2 separate regions of the Homo sapiens genome follow, and region 2 is linked to region 1. The links are contacts of gene promoters, found by promoter capture Hi-C in human tissues and cell types (Jung and others, 2019). All regions are on one chromosome and are shown on one strand. The core of a region is centred on a gene start or on the middle of the fragment in contact, and the rest is flanking DNA. Distances in the headings are between cores, read along the strand shown. Region 1 holds the start of SYNE1 (spectrin repeat containing nuclear envelope protein 1). Region 2 overlaps SYNE1 (spectrin repeat containing nuclear envelope protein 1).

Region 1 (5,641 bases), core at 1,921-4,420:
CTACTGCAGAAAATTTCAAACCCTGCAATGACCAGAGACAACGTGGCTCATTTCTAACCAAAAAGAAAATGAACTGAGAACATAAACACATAAACAGATTCACAACAGCAGGAAGTACAGATATTAATTAAATGTCTAAACATGTATAAGAATAGCACTAATATTGAAACCCACTATTGAATAAAATTTTTAGTCATGAATAAATTTCAGTTTCCCTTCTATTCAAGTCTTTTGCTGAAGAGAGTTCACATACTGTTTAATTTTAAATTTAATTATTTTTTTCTCTATTCACCCATTAATAATGGTACTAATTAATGAATACTAAGATGGCTAAAAGAGAAGAACAGGGATATCTTTGAATTAATGTAAGTATATTACTAATAAATGTGTGCAGGTTATCAGGGAACAATGCTGTTTCTTATTCACTAGTATGAATTATACAGAGTAACAATAAGAAATGATCTTTTCCATAGAAGAACATGAACAAGTAAGCAAAAGACAAAGTGTATAGCAGAAATCAGCATGAAAGATGTTCAGTGTCATAATTAAATTTTGTTTATTGTAAGCCTAAAGTATAAATTACAACCAAAGACATCTGCAACCTTCTTTTTTTCCCTTGCTACAGTATATTGCACACCTTGCCAAACATTAGTTCTCGTTAGATTAGACCACAAAGAAGTACACATTTAAGAGGAGACACACAGAGGACCTCGCAGAGGCGTTTGGGCCCTGCATGCCTGTCACATTCAGACCACAGGGTGTGGCTGCAGTAGCTAGAGCTGGAGTTGTGAAAATGCCACCAACCTTGCCCAGTTATGGGCTTCCTACATCCTGTGACAGTCACACCTCCTTTCATTTCCAAGATGCTGTGTGTGCAGCATAGTTATCAGAAAGTAGGCCCAGTGCAGCACCAAACAATTCTTGAACATTTTTAAATGGCAAACTAGCTTTTTCCAATCTCCTCTCCCTGGCAGGAAGGACTCAAGTAAAAAAGAGTTCTTAAATGAGGTCAATGAGGACAGAAGAAAACCAGTTTGTGAAAATCATTAGTTCAGAAAGATGAAAGTGAGACTATAAAATAAGAGCTAGGCAAATATTTCCAAAGCCTAGCAAATATTGTTATCTGGGTCAGTCTGAAGCTGTTTCTTAATCTTCAGCATGAAACATATTAAGTTAGTATAGATCTCTCACATTTTGTTCTAAATCTGCCACAAAGTAATGAACAGAAAAGAAAAAATAGATATGTATTTTGTCACACTGTTCCGGTGATATCAGGAACTTTTTAGCCATACTACAAATCTTTTTTCACCATGGGGAATAAAAAGCCTCTCAAAGAACAATCGTCATGACTCGTGATTAAATTCGCATTTTATGAAGATGTAGGTCATATTAATGACCTTTGCCTCATTGAAAATTATTATACTTTCTCTTGCATAGGTCTGGCTTCTGTATACGAATGTTGTCTTTAGGAAAGTCATTCTCAGATGAAGACAAAAAATGGATGGGCATTAAAGAAGAGAAAAATAATTCATTTTTAACTTTCTTAACATTCACAGGAACATTTCAGATACAAGTTTTCCACCCCAAAACGAAAAGCTCAGAAATGAACATTGTGGGATGCTAAGGCTTCATTGCTGATATTTCCCTCTGGGCTGGACCTGACTCTATTTACGGAAGGGGGCAGAACTTCCAGCATCCAAAGTCTGGGATCCCAGTCAGCACACCCAGCCTGCCTTCCCAAGGGGCTTCTTCCTGTGCGGCTGATGGCTGCTTCGTTTTGCACGGATGCCTGCCCGTTGGGATGCACCTGGCCGCCTGTGCACCACCATTTCCCAGAACTCCTCCGCCAGCAATGCAAGATCTCTCTATGTGAAACGTATCTTTATAAAGAGGAGACGAAAGTTCTCTTGCCCTCTAGTGCAGGCTCTGCCGGGAAGCAACTGCACCATGACAGCGCCGCTGGAGTCTGACGCGCCAGGGCCTCCGCGCAGCCTTCAAGCCATTTCCCTCCCCCAGCCCTTCCTAAAATAGTCAGGGGGTGGAGGAAGGGAGGCTCCTAGAATCTGTTCAACGCCCTACCTCTCCCATCTGATAGTAGCAACAGTACCGACCATCACAATAAGAGGCTGGCTGCCTTTTGCTTCTGCACCATTGGAGCCCAGGAGATGTGCCACAAGCGGAAATGACAACTCAGAGAGGGGGATATTAATAGGGACATCTACGTACGAGATGCAAAGAGGCTCCCCAACCTCCTAGTCTCCTTATCTATGAGTATCGCACACGTACACACATCACTGCCACCACCCCCTCCCATCAAGCACGCAGAGCCCCAGCGTGCAGGCACAAACTTGCTGACAATTTGTCTGCAATGTGTTCGTCTTGCACCTCTCTCTCCTCTCCCTGTCTCTGTCTCTCCCTGTCTCCCAGTCTCTGTCTTTCCTTTTACCTTCTCTCTCGGCCTCGTTCAGTTTCCCAGCAGCAAGGCGAAGCGAGCGAACGCTTCCTCCCGGCTCTCTGCGCCCAGGCTCGGCGGGACCCCGGGGATGCGCGGCTGTCCGCCCGCCCTGTCGCCGGGATCGGGCGCGGTCTGCAGGACTGCGGGAGCCCAGCCGCCCTGGTGACAGAGGACAACAATCTCAGCCCGCTGCGGCCGGCGGCCGCGGCCCGGCGCCCGCGCTCACCCTGGCTGGCTCGCCCACACTCACTCCCGCGCCGGGCTGCTCAGCCGCGCTCCCCGCCCTCCGCGACCGGTTCCTCCTCCCGGCTGCTCGCTGGGGGGTGAGGCCTCCCCCTTCGCCCTCCCCCACGCATCTACTGCTCCTGTCGGGAAGGAAGGTCGCCCAGGCCGGTTCAGCCTCTGGGCAGGGTCCCTGCACCGCCCTGGCCCGCCACACCCCCTCCCCGGCTCCGTGCCCCGCGCCCCGCGCCCGGCTCCGGGATGCGCCGGTGCCTGGAAGAGCTGGGGGCGGGGACCCGGAGGCTCGCAGGCTTCCCTACCTCCTGGAGATGCACGGCCTTGGGCGTTTCTCCGCAGCTGCAAAGCTGTGCTGTGACCCACCCGCTCAGCGAGCCTTTATACCGGGACCACCTCCCGGGGGTCGAGGTGGGAAGGAAATGTCCCTGAGAGCCGGGACGCGCTGCCTCCGCTGCCTGGAGGAGCTGCGCTGTCCTGCCAGCTAACTTTTGCCCACGGTTTCCACTGCCCGGGTGACCTTTCTGAGCGGAACCTATCCTGAAAGGCTGGGAGGTTCCCTGATGGTCCCAGGAAGGGCGTGATGCAGAGCAAAGAGCAAAACCCGCTGGCTCCTTTTTCATCAACTTCCGAAAGATCCTAAATCGTTTTGGCTGCCAAGTCAGTAGCAAATAACTTAATTTGAGGGAGACTGGTCAGGCTTTATAGATCTTTTTTAATGTTATGTATAAAGTTTAGACTTCTTGAGAAAGCGCTTGACATCTTTAATTCTTGACTGTTTATTATGATGATTCTAAAAACCACTTTTAGGTTCTTCAGGTGCACTGTATGCACCCTGTACATTGCGGAGCCATTTGTATCTTTGGCCACAAGTCCTTCTCGTGGTGTAAGAGATCTTGGTGTTGCCTGGTAGCATTCAGGAGAATTTATTTTGTTGTGGTTTTATGGTATCCAGGCAAAGTCAAACACAGTCTCTCTTCACCAACAGTGAAGTCCAAGTCCAACAGGATGATTGCAGCTAAAATAATCGAAGCCATGTTGCAATAATCTTAAAAGTAATAATCCCCCCCTTGAATCTCCAATCTGAACAAAACAGTCATTTATCCTCTAAATTTGCTGAAAGGAAGGAGCAGTTTATAAAGTAGATGAAGTTTCTCTTTGCTGCCTGCCTTTCCCTTACCTGCTGCCAACATTCCCACTGCCTAGCTTTCCATTTTCTTCAAATTCTCCTTCTTCTGGATCGTGTCAAAATAATAACATCTGAAACAAATCTGGTAAACCAATCTGATGTGTTCCTCTTCTTTGTGCTGACTTTTGTTTTTTTTTAGAGAGAGAAACCAAACAATGGATCTCTATTTGCAGAACTTGCTACCTCCAAAAGTTGGGCCTGGAGGAGGAGTGTTTGGGATCACTCTCAATGTATGCCCTGCCTCTGCCTGAGGGCAACAATCCTGGGGCACCCCCAGAGCCCCTTGTGGAGACAACCACCAGAGCATAATTATTCCAGGTCAGCCCTCTGTGCCCAGTGGCCACAAAATGGGGTCCAGATTTCCAGGCTTGCCACTCAGAAGAAACAGATCAGAATGGCTCAGCTCACCCTCTCAATCCCTACCTTCATAGAATCAATCCACCCTGCCGGCTTTTGAAGATGGGTAGAAAGTTATTGTGCCAACTTTGCCATTCTTTTTGTTTGTTTGTTTGTTTGAGATGGAGTTTCGCTCTTGTTCCCCAGGCTGGGGTGCAATGGTGCAATCTCGGCTCACTGCAACCTCCGCCTCCCAGGTTCAAGCAATTATCCTGCCTCAGCCTCCTGAGTAGCTGAGATTACAGGGATGCGTCACCACACCTGGCTAATTTTGTATTTTTAGTAGAGACAGGGTTCCTTCATGTTGGTCAGGCTGGTCTCAAACTTCCGACCTCAGGTGACCCATCCAGCTCGGCCTCCCAAAGTGCTGGGATTACAGGTGTGAGCCACTGCACCTGGCCACCAACTTGCTATTCTACACGTTAAGCAACTACTTTCTTGGGTTTACTTACTTGAGAAGTGAGCCACTTAAAACACAAGCCTGAAACATTGCTTCCACCAACTAAAACTCCTCTACTAGGCCTAATCTCTGTTCTCACAGGCTGAGACAGACAGAAGCATAGAGCTGTCTTGCTGGCATTGATTCCCTATACAGCTGAAATCCCATTCTCAGCTAAACTTTATCCTCTGTAGAAGGACTAAGCACATTTTAGAGTTTTGCAAAGGGCTTGTCAGTTTCACACACCCCAGGGAAGGGTGTTGTAGCTCCATTTACTCAACAGCTATTGCTTGAACACTTACCACATAACAAATATTGTCCTAAGTGCTGGGGCTACCGTGGTAAGCAAACTCTGACCGGGCTCTTGCCTTCATGGAGCTTACAGTATGATGGGGGAAGAGCCAGACATTCATCAGAGAACCACACAAATACTTATAAAACCCCATTCTCCAAGCAAAGGCAAATGTTGCTATGAGAGCTTTCAAGAACGGGAGTTGGCCAGGCATGGTGGCTCACACCTGTAATCCCAGCATTTTGGGAGGCCAAGGCAGACAGATCACTTGAGGACAGGAGTTCGAGACCAGCCTGGCCAACATGGTGAAACCCCATCTCTACTAAAAATACAAAAATTGGCCAGGCACGGTGGCTCATGCATGTAATCCCAGCACTTTGGAAGGCCGAGGCAGGCAGATCACAAGGTCAAGAGATCAAGACCAGCTTCACCAACATGGTGAAACCCCATCTCTACTAAAAATATAAAAAATTAGTTGGGCATGGTGGCGCATGCCTGTAGGCCCAGCTACTCAGGAGGCTGAGGCAGGAGAAACACTTGAAGCTGGGAGGCGGAGGTTGCAGTGAGCCAAGATTGCACCACTGCACTCCAGCCTGGCGACAGAGTGAGACTCTGTCAAAAAAAAAAAAAAAT
Region 2 (5,190 bases), core at 1,775-4,274, 180 kb before region 1:
GTCATATTTCAAGAAGCAAAGTAAAGATCTCATAAGTCAGAGGTTATGGATACTGGATGAAAATGGAAAGCAATTGTTTTTATTATATGTATATAAATATATATCAAATTATCTGTCTATCTATCTATCTATCTGTTTTCAAAGTATCAAGAAAAGAAGGCACGTATGCCTTTTTAAGTGAAATTAACCATTTCGTCAATCAGCAAGGCAGCAGGTAATGCCTAAAGCTATGTGTGGGAAGCAACAGTAAATGATTCTCCAAAAGAAAGTCAATATAAGAAGGAAAATATTATATCTGTATATATAATACAAATATTTATATATTTTATATAAATATCCTCTCTGTATAAGTTTTATACATATAAAATTTATATATATTTATCTTTTAGTTATGTAATGTAGAGACAGGATATTTATTTAATTTTCTTATAGTGTCTTTCTACTAGCAAACCTAGGGATCACGTTTCATGAACAAAGCCCATAAAAAGTTTAATGTAAATAAATTCTTATCTGTATTTTTAAAAGGATAGACTATATGTGGTCTATTGCTAGTAGGCAGGAACTCTAAGAAAAGTAAATAAATACAAAGCAGAGAAATAATAGAAAGTCCTTTGATTATGGGTACCCTTAATGTTTGAAGTTAGAGTGGCGGATTTGGCTCCATCTCTATAACACATCCCTTATTTCACAGAGACATTGTGAACTTTGCACTTTCTGTAGTTGGGGCTCAGGATGCATGGCTTACGCGTGCACACAGCAGATGTTTATAAATGCTTGCTGAGTATTGCCAGATCACAATGTTGCTCCATTGATAGAAAGGGGAGCTGGGTGCTCAAAACAAACCATTTTTTCTAACTTTGCTCAACTCAGTGAACTTACTGATTCAGATGAATGAGCCTGGTTTGCACCTGAGTCCAGCTAGACCATTCCCTGGAAACAAACAGCTCACATAGCCCCTGCACTGACAGTGAATGGATTTTCATCTTTGGACAAGACATGTATTTTTGTTTTGAGTTAGTAGTACTATTCTAGAAAAATGTTTCTTGTCCTCACTGAATTTCTATTCCTGTAAGCAACACCCTGGTCTTGTTACACATGCTTTAGAATAATTGTCTCCTGAAAAGGATTGTTCTCACCTGATGTTTTTGTTTAAAAAGGGCACTCGATTGTGCCTCACGCTCAAGAACTGTGATAATTTCATTGATTTTCCCAAGTGAGTCATAAAAGGACGTCATCTGCTTTTCTAATTCCTCCAACGGAATCAACAGCTGCTGAGACTCATAAAGGAGTGGGGAGTAACATTCTTTGACCTTTAAAAACATAAAGACAAAAATTCCATGAAAGACCATTAAGTGCCACTAGCTCAGGGAACGTTCATAGCTCTGAGGAACATTTTCTTTAGTGACATGATCATTTGGTGCTTACAAATATCCAAAGACATTTCTTTAATGATATTTCCTCTATATTGTCAAATTTTGCTGTGAAAAATAATAGTGCTGTACCACTGAGACAAATAAATGGCTACTGAGTTTTCTCATGAAAATTCATCTAAATCGTCCATCTGGATAGCACTTTCTCATCTAAATGATTGTTTTTAGTGAGCCAGATGGCATCAAATTATACTTCATAAACCATGCAACTCATTTTCACTTTGGCCTTGAAATCTGACCTAAGACAGTCATGAATTATTATTATATTACCTAGACCAACCTGTGTCTTCCAGCTTTGTTTTCAAGAGATCGCCTACTTGAACCCTTGACTGCTGATAAACTTAGAAACCTGTTGACTCACTCTTCCCAGACAGGCCTGTGCTTTCCTGCCTCCCACCAGCTCCATGCTTTGCTGCTCCCTGCTTATCAACATCCTACTCATCCGAAGCACTAAAGTCACACCAATTTATTCATGAAGCTTCCCATGCTAGGGGAGGGCTCTGTAGTCCAAACTGATGCAGCCCTTACCTGTCACTTGTCTTGTAAAACATGTTTTAGTTTATAGACCTGCATTGTCTTAAAGATGAGGCCACTAGCTCCTGGAAATCAAGAGCTCCAGGAGGTGTCTACTCTTCATCCTCCAAGAACTTCCCACCTCTTCTCATACTTTCAGATAACCAGGGAAAGGAAATTAATCAGTATTTGTTAGTAAGCCATTCTTTGTTTTTCATATAGTATAAAGACAATAATGTTCTAACCAGATGAGGCATATTCCAAAAAGTAATCCTTGAAGAAAGTGGGAGAGGGCAACATTTTGCTCTACTGTTAAACATAGAATTATGTATGAAGAAACGTTTTTATGTTCTAGGATATACTGCCTGAAGTATACACTCATCAAAAGAAAGTTACCATCCTGCTACTGCAACAAGACTCTGATATAATTACCTTGAACAAAACCAAGAGAGTCTACTAATGTGTATACAAATCAGTGTGTTTTATTGATCTCTCCTGGGTAGAAGAGAAAACCTATCAAGATGCTGCATCTGAAACAGTAAAAAGGCAAATGACAATTTGCTTTCTCAGGGGTTGTCCTGAACACCTAAGCATGGCTCAGGCTAAGATGTGCAAGCCCAGCTATGGCCCTGAAAGCTGCTGGGGAGTTATCAAATTGGAAATGTTGACTTCAAATTGTACTTATTGTTTAGCAGCTTTTACTAGTAGCCAATATTATCATTATTGCCCACAACCTTTAAATTATAAATAATTCTAACTTGAATGTTAAAATAAAATGAACTGAACATAAACATTCTCATACATACCATATTGATAGATAAAATTTTCTCTTTTTTATGGTCATGATTTTTCCTATTTTAGCTTTTTGAATGCATTCTTTTTCATTAATTCCCTACCACTGATGTCACAGAGGTTATTCTCTTCCTTTCTACCTTTCTTTCCTATTTAACAGGGTCTTCTACTTTGTTTCTACTTTGTTTTCCCATTCTTCATTTTAAAATATTTCCATTCATTTATTATAATCACTTCTCTCTTTTACTAGAAATTAATTACCCAATCTAGGTGGATTTTGCAAACAATACCATCTTCCTAAAATTCATATTTGGATAGATAACAAATCCCAATGGAACTTCCAAAGCTCTTAAGGAAAATCACTGAATAGACTAGAAAATGCTTATGACTAGTGCTTACATCCATCTAGTTCCCTGTACAGAAAAGGTATAAATGTATATAATCTTTTTTTTTTTTTTTTTTTTTTTTTTTTTGAGACAAAGAGTCTCGCCCTGTCACCTAGGCTGGAGTGAAATGGCGCGATCTGGGCTCACTGCAACCTCTGCCTCCCGGGTTCAAGTGATTCTCCTGCCTCAGGCTCCTGAGTAGCTGGGATTATAGGTGCACGACACCATGCCTGGCTAATTTTTGTATTTTTAAGTAGAGACGATGTTTCATCATGTTGGTCAGGCTGGTCTCGAACTCCTGACCTTGTGATCTGCTCGCCTCGGCCTCCCAAAGTGCTGGATTATAGGCGTGAGCCACTGCACCTGGCCTAAATGTATATATTCTAAGCCTAAGTGAGCTCCATGAGATGAGGAGGTCAGAATTTCCACAGCTTTGTGGCTATGCTTGCAGAAAATTGCACAAATAAGTTTGGAGTGGAGATATATCAAACAAATCTTAACCAATTCTCATTTAAATTTATGATCCCCTCTTCTTCCTCCTCCTCATCTCCTTTTTCTCTTTATCTCTCTTTCCCTCTCTTGGTTTTATCACATGTAACCGTTCCCCAAAAGTATCTAACTTTCTATTAAAATATAGCTATAATACTTCTAAATTAACAGAGGTAATACTTGGTATCAGCATCATAGTTTTATTTTTTTTAATTCATGACAAAGTTACTAAATTGAGAATCCCAATTAGAAACAAAAGCATCGTTAACAAGTAAACACTTTGCCCATGGGGAGAAGGAGGTAGCAAGCAAGCTGAAGGCACTGTTGGTGTCACACAGCCTATTGTGCATTAAATTATTTTCGCACCTTGGTTAGCTGCTCTTTGAGCTTTGACATGGTCGCAAACATTTCTTTTCCTTCTTCTTGGGGGCTTTCTTTGGTAATGAGGTGTGCTGTCTTTGTAATTATCTTGTATTGGGCATCCATCACAGGCACCCTCTGCTCAATATCCTGCATGAATCATTGAAACAGCCAGATTCATACATGACACATTTCCTCTTAACTTCCGGATTCCACAGAAGGCAGAACAAAAATCAATATGCACTGTATAAAATCCAATACTTACACTAAACTTTCGACGATTCCAGTTTTTGCTTCCCTTCATTACTAATAAATATTGGTAATATTATATAGTTAATAAAATTTTCCTTTAAAAGTGACCAAAACATCAAGATTAGCTGAAATGATCTTTGTACTTTCCAAAACAAATCCCATGTTAATGTAGTATGGAAATATAAAATAAAATGTAAATGTATATTTAAAATGTGGGGGAATTCTGACTTTAAAAATTAGACTGGTTTTCGTTAAAAAAAAAAAAAGTAACTCATTGCCATTATAAAAACTTATAAATTAGAAATATTAGGATAATGACAATTTAAATTACTTATAGTCTTCTCCCACAGTAAAACCCAAAGCCAACATCTTATCTATACATCATTAAGTTTTTTTTTCCTGTGTTTACACCCATTTTAAAATTTTTACAAAGACAAAAGAATGATACTGTTGTTTGCTTTTCTCATGTAACAATATATTGCAAAATCTTACCATGTCATTAAAAATTCTTCCACTACTTCATTTGTGAGAGCTGCAGGCTATTCAAAATATGCAAATACCACAGTTCATGCAATAAATCCTTTATTATTGAAAGTATTTAGGTGCGGGTGCTATCTATAGATGTCTCCTGTTTTTTCCTAATACTTTTTAACTTGGTTGTAGAAAAAAAAAATCTCCAAACTGAGAAACAATTTGAAGTTACTTTATATGATCAAGTCATGTCTTTTTTATGTTCAATACATTTTTTTCTGACAGGTGCAAATTGGGACATACAGACATGTCAAAATGATGCCCAGGAGACACAGAAACAGCTTTTGCAATGATCTGAATAAACTTGCTGATCTTTCCTCTCACAACAGAGTAGGCTTTTCATTTTGATTCAGAAACCCCTCACCTCCAAGTCTTGAATTAATAGCTTGACATTCATAAAAGAGACTTCTAAGGGTTCAGAAAGTTTCTTATGGGCT

What was found. Contacts are between HindIII fragments. The study calls those that stand out against the background at their distance.
Region 2: a fragment that was not itself captured here is called in contact with the fragment with the promoter of SYNE1 in region 1 in 1 of the 25 tissues and cell types used here (hippocampus).

Annotation. Positions count from the first base shown.
Region 1 is chr6:152,634,192-152,639,832 of GRCh38, forward strand. It overlaps SYNE1 (spectrin repeat containing nuclear envelope protein 1), which reads right to left and starts at 3,171. Exons shown (of 146, transcript NM_182961.4): 1 at 2,998-3,171; 2 at 2,447-2,614. RefSeq lists an enhancer at 669-798. The HindIII fragment of the contact is 20,643 bases long and covers 1-5,641 here.
Region 2 is chr6:152,457,621-152,462,810 of GRCh38, forward strand. SYNE1 (spectrin repeat containing nuclear envelope protein 1) reads right to left here. Exons shown (of 146, transcript NM_182961.4): 20 at 5,118-5,190; 21 at 3,977-4,120; 22 at 1,137-1,310. Among named protein-coding and RNA genes, the nearest start is that of SYNE1-AS2, 58 kb to the left of the region's middle. The HindIII fragment of the contact is 8,676 bases long and covers 1-5,190 here.